Linked DNA regions of Homo sapiens: regions 2 and 3 are each linked to region 1. Evidence: promoter capture Hi-C in 16 types of primary human blood cells and fetal thymus (Javierre and others, 2016). All regions are on one chromosome and are shown on one strand. The core of a region is centred on a gene start or on the middle of the fragment in contact, and the rest is flanking DNA. Distances in the headings are between cores, read along the strand shown.

What was found. The method cuts DNA at HindIII sites, captures the fragments that hold promoters and counts their contacts. A CHiCAGO score of 5 or more calls a contact.
Region 2: a contact is called between a fragment that was not itself captured here and the fragment with the promoter of MAG in region 1, in 2 of 17 cell types (total B cells and naive CD8 T cells). The highest score is 7.8, in total B cells.
Region 3: a contact is called between a fragment that was not itself captured here and the fragment with the promoter of MAG in region 1, in 8 of 17 cell types (naive B cells, total B cells, monocytes and 5 more). The highest score is 9.0, in naive B cells.

The regions. Positions count from the first base shown.
Region 1 is chr19:35,290,827-35,293,477 of GRCh38, forward strand. MAG (myelin associated glycoprotein) reads left to right here and starts at 1,335. Exons shown (of 11, transcript NM_002361.4): 1 at 1,335-1,378. The HindIII fragment of the contact is 16,958 bases long and covers 859-2,651 here.
Region 2 is chr19:35,135,721-35,138,371 of GRCh38, forward strand. It overlaps a transcript of FXYD1 not described here. Among named protein-coding and RNA genes, the nearest start is that of FXYD1, 1.8 kb to the right of the region's middle. The HindIII fragment of the contact is 1,017 bases long and covers 818-1,834 here.
Region 3 is chr19:35,161,528-35,164,178 of GRCh38, forward strand. FXYD5 (FXYD domain containing ion transport regulator 5) reads left to right here. Exons shown (of 9, transcript NM_014164.6): 6 at 2,629-2,651. Among named protein-coding and RNA genes, the nearest start is that of FXYD5, 8.1 kb to the left of the region's middle. The HindIII fragment of the contact is 159 bases long and covers 1,267-1,425 here.

The DNA of each region.
Region 1 (2,651 bases), core at 85-2,584:
CCCGCCCGACTCTCAATGGTCCTTTGTCCCGGACTGGGAAAGGCACGGGCAGAGTCTGACATCATGAAGCCTGGGGTGGGGGTGGGACTCCCCCTCCCCCTCCAACTCCCCCCCAGCCCCACAACGCTTCTCTCCCTGGTCTGAGGGATTTCCCCGCCCCTCACCCCCTGGGTTCTCCCTTGAGAGCGAGGACCCCCCCTCCCCACTGCTCTGGCCTGAAGGAGGACAGGAGATGTCCCAGTGAGGCTGAACAGCTCATGGTGAAATCACTGCTGCACTTTGTCACGCCACCTCCAGCTGCCCCGAGCCCCCACCCACCTTGCAAAAGTCATGACCAAGGGGTGGAATCTGCACTCAGAGGGTCCTTGCCCAACTTGGTCAGCACAGTCCTATGTGCACCAAGCACTGCCCCGGGGACAGAAGGGTGCACATGACAGACAGAGAGGCAGATAGGTTTCTGGTGAGCCCCTGCCTCTGAGAGCTCCTGGGTTAGTGGGAGGCAGAGGCGGGCAGACCTAGGGTGCACACGGGCCAGCCTGCCAAGGCTACAGAAGGAAAGGACAGCATTGCAATGGAGGGGCCTGGCTGATGGGCGAAGATGGGAAAGCTTCCCAGGGAAGCGGCACCCAGGCTGCTGAGCCTACAGGATGGGTGAACGGCAGCCAGTGCCAGAGTGGGGAGTGCTATGGGGTGGGGACTGCTTTCCAGGAAGAATGAGCAGCAGGTGCACAGGCCTTGAGTCTGAAGGTGCCCTGGGGCTCTGGGGAACACATTCAACCACCCACACTGTTTATTAAGCTCAACTGCCTGCCAGGAGCTTGTCTACGAGCAAGGATGGATTGAGAATATCCAAGACGAAGCTTCTGGCCTGGTGGAGGTCACGTTCTCATGAAAGGAGTTGGTGAACACGGAAGGTCATTTCAGATGGCAAGAGGAGGTGACACTGACGTTGAGGGTGGAAAGGACCTGTCTCCTCCTGCTGCCCACCTAATGTTGCCACCAAGATTCCCTGAGGACAATGCCTCTGTCCCTCAGCCTGGGACTTCCAAAGAGATTAGACTGCCCCCCCACCCCCGGGACCCAGAATCAGGGTGTACAGGGATGGAAGATGGGGAGAGAGCAAGGCAGCCACTCCCGACCCCTCCAGGAAAGAGCTAGGAGAACCCAGGCGTCAGGCTGCCCAGTCCGAGCCCCGTGGTGACAAGGGCCCCTTTGTGCCCCCCTCCCCCGGGGGTAGGGAGGAGCTGGGCCCTGGAGGCAGGCGGCCCCTGGCACCCAGGGGGAGGGGAGGGGCTGGCAAGTGGGGGCCTAGACCCTGGAAGGCAGGGGACTGCGAGCTGGGCTGGCGGAGCAGAGGTGCAGAAGCAACTGAGTCCAAGTGAGTATGGTGGCAGGGAGGCCAGGGCAAGGGGAGCAGGGCACCGGGGCAGTGGCACCCAGACGTGAGCAGGGTCAGGTGCTCTGGGTGAGGGAGCATCGCTGTGCACCGCTACTGATTTAGGATGCAGGAGTGTGTGGCTTGGGGCTGCTTTGGGGATGGGCTCGGACCATCGCTGGGGCAGCGATGGGGCTCTGGGAAGAAACCACAGAGAGAAAAAACAAAGGGCCCCCCCTCAGCACCCCTTGTGGGTGAAGATTTTGCAGGAGAGGTTTCCTTGGGGTTCCCGAGTGCGGGGCAGATGGGGTGGAGGAGGTCTGCATCTGGCCGAAGAATGGAAGGATGTCCAGGTGATCAGACACCTGCAGGCTGCAATCTGGGAGGTGGATGGGGGCAGTGGGCTGTTAGTGACTGCATTCTAGCACCTGGGCACATAGCAGGTGTGTGTGTGTGTGTGTGTGCGTGTGCGTGCACACACATGGCTGCCCATGCACCTTCCTCTGTAAGCCTCAGTCGACTTTTCTTCATTAATCCCCACTAAGGACACTTTTTATTTTTCGTTACTTTTTTTTTTTTAAGAGACGGGACTCTCACTATATTGCCCAGGCTGGTCTCAAACTTCTGGGCACAAGAGATTCTCCCAACTTGGCCTTCCAAAGTGCTGGGTTTACAGGCGTGAGCCACTGCGCCCGGCCCCAACTACAGAAACTTTTTAGATGCATTTGTCCTCATCCCATCCTTCCCTTGGCATTTTAATCCAACAGATCTGCTGTACATATGTTTATGGACTGTGGCCACACACACTGTAATAGCTGAGGTTGATTTGGCCCCCATCCCGAGAACTTGTTTTCCCCGCTGTTAAGAGTGCATGGTCTACCTGCTTGTTTCATGTCTGCCCGGGCACGTGCTCATCCTCATCTGCATCTCTCTCCTGTACCTTCCTGTCACAGGTGCAAGGGCAGCGTCGGCCAGGTGTCCATCGGCGCGTGTCTGAGTGGACGCGTCTATAGCCATCCTCAGTGTGTGTGTGCAGTTCCTTGCATCTTTGTTAGCCTGGCATGCATGCTGGGCTGTGTGTGTGTGTGTGTGTGTGTGCTGAATGCCAGGGCTGTGTCTGTCCAGGTGTGTGTGGACAGCAGCAGAGGCATTGCATGCACGCCTTGGGAACTATGTGAGTGCCAGCCCATCCCTGTGGGCACAGGGGTCCCTGTGCCTGTCTGTGTGTTCAGGGTCCTGTCTGGGTGTCTGTATGAGTCTCCGCTGCGTGTGCCTG
Region 2 (2,651 bases), core at 76-2,575, 160 kb before region 1:
GATGATGCCACCCCTTCTTCAGCGTCTACTCTGAGCCTGGCCTTGTCCTAAAAGCTCATCTATTAACTCATTCTGATCTTGCCAAAGCCCTCTGAAGTTAGTGCTGTCATCATCACCACTTTACAGCTGGAGGAAGTGGAGACAGAGGTCAGGGAACCTGAACTCTAGGTTACCCAGCTGAGGGCACAGCCGGGATTCAAACCCAGGCATCCGGCTCCAGGTTATTTTGCATTCTTTCTTTGGAGATCAGAGTTCATGGATAGATGGATAATTGGTTGTTTTAATCTGGACTAAATTTTAGTCATTTGGATAGATTCTGTCCACTAAATAAGAAACATAAGTAAATGACACTTGTTAGCTAAGATGAAATAGTAGTAATGTTTATACTCACTCAGCCTTCACAGCCACCCTGTGAGATGGGCAGTACTGCTATCCCTGCTTTACAGATGGGGAAACTGAGGCACAGGGAAGTTATGTGATTAGTTTCCTGGCTCTAGTCAGCTCTAAACCTAACCCCTAGGCTGTACCACCTCATCGCCTGGGGACGAGACTCATCCTGTGATTGAGGAATGCATGCAGCCTCTCTTGACACTGACGCCCACGCCCAGAAGCCTCGTTGGAGGATAAGGGGGCTTAACAGCTTGGAGGTCATGCAGATCTGGGTTCCAGGCCCAGTCCTGTGTGGCCTCAGTTTTCCCATCTGTCAAACGGGGACAATCGTGGCACCCGCTTCCCAGTTGTGGAGAGGACTCAGGTGATGGAGGCAACTCATCCTTTTGGGGTTCAGCACAAGGTGGGCATCCCACAGTGGTCGGCAAGCTTGGGGGTGGGCTCCGGATCCAGCTCCTAGAGGAGCAGACCCCAGCAGCTTGTGGTTTGAGCCATGCCCGTCAGCTCTCAGTTTCCTTCACTGACTATTGGGTATGATAAACAGGGTCCCTGAAAGTGAAGTTGGAGAGCTGAGTGCCAGGGGCACAGAGGGATCTGAACCCACTCTCATAGGGTGCCCAGCCCAGCAGTCCAGTTCACAAGGAGGAGGATGACAAGGACAATAATAATAGGCCAGGCACGGTGGCTCATTTCTGTAATCCCACATTTTGGCAGGCTGAAGTGGGAGGATCGCTTGGGGCCAGGAGTTCAAGACAAGCCTGGGCAACATAGAGAAACCCCGACTGTACAAAAAATTAAAAAATTAGCCAGGCATGGTGTCGCACGCCCATAGTCCCAGCTACTCAGGAAGCTGAGGTGGGAGAATCACTTGAGCCCATGAGGTTGAGGCTACAGTGAGCTATGATTGTGCCATTGCACTTCAGCCTGGGTGACAGAGCAAGACCCGGTCTCAAACAAACAAACAAAAAATGAAGTTAATCATAAGACAATGTCAAGTTCAGAGACCTCTGAGCCCTGTCCAGGATTATACACGTGATCTTAGTGATTTTTCCATTTTGGAGCATGTGAAAATGAGGCACAGAGCTGCTCAAGTTCACACAACCAGGAGTGCAGTGCCTGGGCCATTCCAGGTTTCCCTGTCACCAGGACCTGTAAACCTGGCCTGCCCATGGGGACGCCAGGTGTGTTGTCCCCGACAAGAGCTCAGGGGAAGGAAAGTGTGGGGTTAAATACATATCTGTGGTTTTGGAATGTGTGAACATGCAAGTGTGTCAGCCTGCGCATCTGTCACCGTGGCCAACCATGTGCCTGTTTGCTCAAGCATAGGGTGTGAACCAGTGTGTGTGTTTCTGCTTTTGTGGGTATGTGTGAGAGCGGCGGGTTGTCCTTGATGGTGTTTCTGCTTGTGTATCTGTGCCCATGGAAATCTGTCTGTGTGTACACAAGCTTGTTGGCCTTCCTATCTTTGGGACCATGTAGGAGTGCTGGCTGCATGTCTGTACCTTTGGGGTTTTTTTGTTTTGTTTTTGTTTTTGAGACAGAGTCTCGCTCTGTTGCCCAGGCTAGAGTGCAGTGGCATGATCTCAGCTCACTGCAAGCTCTGCCTCCCGGGCTCAAGTGACTCTCCTGCCTCAGCCTCCGGAGTAGCCGTGATTACAGGCGCACGCCACCACACCCAGCTAATTTTTGTATATTTTTTTAGTAGAGACGAGCTCTCGTCGGGTTGGCCAGGCTGGTGTTGAACTCCTGGCCTCAAGTGATCCTCCCGCCTTGGCCTCCCAAAGTGCTGGGAGTACAGGTGTGAGCCACCGTACCTGGCCATGTTTGGCCATGCATCTTAGAATGCATTTATGTGCGGTGTGCACATACTTGTGTGTTTCTGTATGGCCATTTGTGGGTGGGTCTTCACATAAACATGCATTTTTGTGGCCAGTTTGTGAGTGTAGATGGTGATGTGGCTATGTCTTTGACTGTATCTCTGTGTGGCCATCCATCTACATGAGCGTGCGTGGGTCTGTGTAGACATAAATGTGCTTGTTCTGGTATTTTGTGACTGGCATAAAAGGTGTTGGCTGTGTGTCCGGGTCTTTGGGTTTCTCTATCAGTGTGTCATTCTGTGTGTGTCTGCTTCTATGGATGTACATACATACATGGTTTTGTCTGGTTTTGTACCTGTATATCTGGGTCTTTGGGATTGTGTGTGGGTGTGTGTGTGTGGTGCATTTCTGGGGATCTCACCACAGCAGATAGCGCACATGCGC
Region 3 (2,651 bases), core at 96-2,595, 130 kb before region 1:
ATGTCTGAACCAATGAGAGCCTGAGAAATGAGCTGCTCTCATTGGTCAGGCCTGAGTCTTGTGCCCCACCCTGGGGCTAGAGAAGAGGCTCAGCCAGCCATGCCTGAACCACATAGACCAAGAGTCAGGGAAGAGGGGATTTTCCTTTGGACAAGTGAGTTAGTATTACCAGAAGGTGTGGGAAAGGAGACTGAGCTGAGATAAGGCAACAGATCGCCTCTAATGCCTGCGTGATGATCCTTATTTGAGGGGCAGCCCCACACTGGAAAGTGTTGTAGAGTAGGCCACTCCCAGAGAGACATGTACAGTTGTGCAGACTGGGTACTGAACGAGAGCACCACCTCTCGGGCAATGCCATTCCCTTTGTCGGTCTTTATAATTGTTCCAGTTTTCTAGTGATAGCAGCAAAGCATCTCATTCTTACAGAATCTATCTATTAAAACAATCCTACAATGGATGGAAATAAAGTGCTTTACAGAAGGGAACTTTTCTAGTTTGTACAAAAGTGCACCTGTAGGGGTGGGGGATAGCAGCTGTGTCCACACTTATCAATGATAAAGCATTCTCACATCACTGCATTAATTTACTGAGTCTTTGCTGACCTGAGTTGCTCTATGTATTGGTCCATGTTCCTGGATATATGTGACAGAAATTCATCAAGGACAAATGGCTGTCACTGCTGAGCCTCTGGGTTGCCTAGAGGCTGGGCATGAAAGCCCCCAGGGCCTCTCTTCCTCCTCTATCTTTGCTTCTCTTCCACCTAGGAAGGAAATGGCTCATGTTATTTGAGCCTCCTAGCTCAAAACTTCCAGACTTCACCTAGGGTTTTAATCTGCTCAGGTTACGATAACAAAATACCACAGACTGGATGGCTTAAACAATAGGAATTCATTTCTCCCGGTTCTGGAGATGGGAAGTCCAAGATCAAGGTGCCAGAAGGGTTGGTGTCTGTCGAGGGCTCCCCTTGGGTCACAGACAGCCATTCTCTTGCTCTGTCTTCACCATGTCCTCTCCATGTGTGGGTGGGCTTGTGAGCTTGAAAGCAAGCTCTCTGGTGTCTTCTTATAAGGGCACTAATCCCATCATGAGGGCCCCACCCTCATGATCCTATCTAACCCTAATTACCTCCCAAAGGCCCTCGCTCCAAAATACCATCACATGGAATTTGGTGGGGTGGATAGAATTCAGTCTATAGTACCTAGCTGTCACTCAATATCCCTACTTGGGATTTCAAAGGTCTCAGGGAAGGACCAGACTGAGGTCACAAGCTTCCTTTTGTAGCCTGGGTTATAACTGGGGAAGGGAGGGCAATGTCTTCCCACAAAGAAAGGGAGAGCTGTTCCAGAAGGAGGAAGAGTGCTGAGCAGACAGTAATAGCAATGGCTGACTTTTGCTGAGAGCTTGTTCATGCTGGGCACTGTGCTAAGCTTCTGTGTATTCAGTCATTTGATGCTTGTGATCATCCTGTGTGGTGGGAACTGTCATTACTCCCATTTTACAGGAAAAGGAACTGAGGCCCAGAGAGGTTACTCAGCTTGCCCTAGGCAATACAGCCAAGAGTGGCAGAACCGGAATTTGAGTCCAGACTGTCTCACCCCAGGGTGCATGAGCACCACACACCAGTATGGCTGTCCTTCGCATTCCTGTGGTCTCTGCCGTGGATCTGGCTTATACCTTCCTCTGGGCAATGCATTCCCTGAATATCTTGTAATCCTTGGTTGCCAGTTCCTATTTAGGGTGTGGGGCACTGAGATAATTCCAGGGAACTTGGGTTTCACGAGGGAGCTTCTCTGTCTGCTGGCTTCTTGTTGAGGCCTCCGATGTGGTGTGGGGGCACTTCTCAGTGCTTGGGGGAGGCCTTTTCTTTGGAGGTACTGATTTTTTTTTTTTTTTCAAGAGAAGAATCCTTTGGTATTTTCGGTCTGGGGGCAGAGGTGATATTCAGAATAGTTTTGTTGTTGTTGTTGTTTTTGAGACAGAGTGTTGCTCTGTTGCCCAGACTGGAGTGCAGTGGCGAAATCTTGGCTCACTGCAATCTCCACCTCCCGAGTTCAGGCAATTCTCCTGCCTCAGCCTCCCAAGTATCTGGGATTACAGGTGTGTGCCACCAGGCCCAGTTAATTTTTGTATTTTTAGTAGAGGCGGGGTTTCACCATGTTGGCCAGACTGGTCTTGAGCTCTTGGCTTCAGGTGATCTGCCCGCCTCAGTCTCCCAAAGTGCTGGGGTTTACAGACATGAGCCACTGCACCCAGCCAATATTCAGAATGTTTTACAAGTTTCTCCAGACTATGTAGCTGGGTCAGAGTCCTTGGCAGGTGTTGCCCTTTCGTTCCTTTATCTCCTGGATTATAGTGTGGGCCAGAAGGTCCTAGGAGAGGGGTCTGGAGTCCCTCGGGGATTGAGGCAGATCAGATAGTCGCAACCGGGGCTATGTGCTTATTTCAGCATTTCAATGCCTGTCATTACTTATTGCCTCTAGGTGTGGAGTAGGGGGGATGCCTGACCCTGCACACCAGCTGTGTAGATGTGGGAGAGGGGTTTCTTCCAGATGCAGACTCTCAGTAATATCCCTTGTTTCTGCCTCCATGGCTCACTCCTGCCCTCCACTGATCTGGCCACTCTCTCAGCTCATCCCACTGATGACACCACG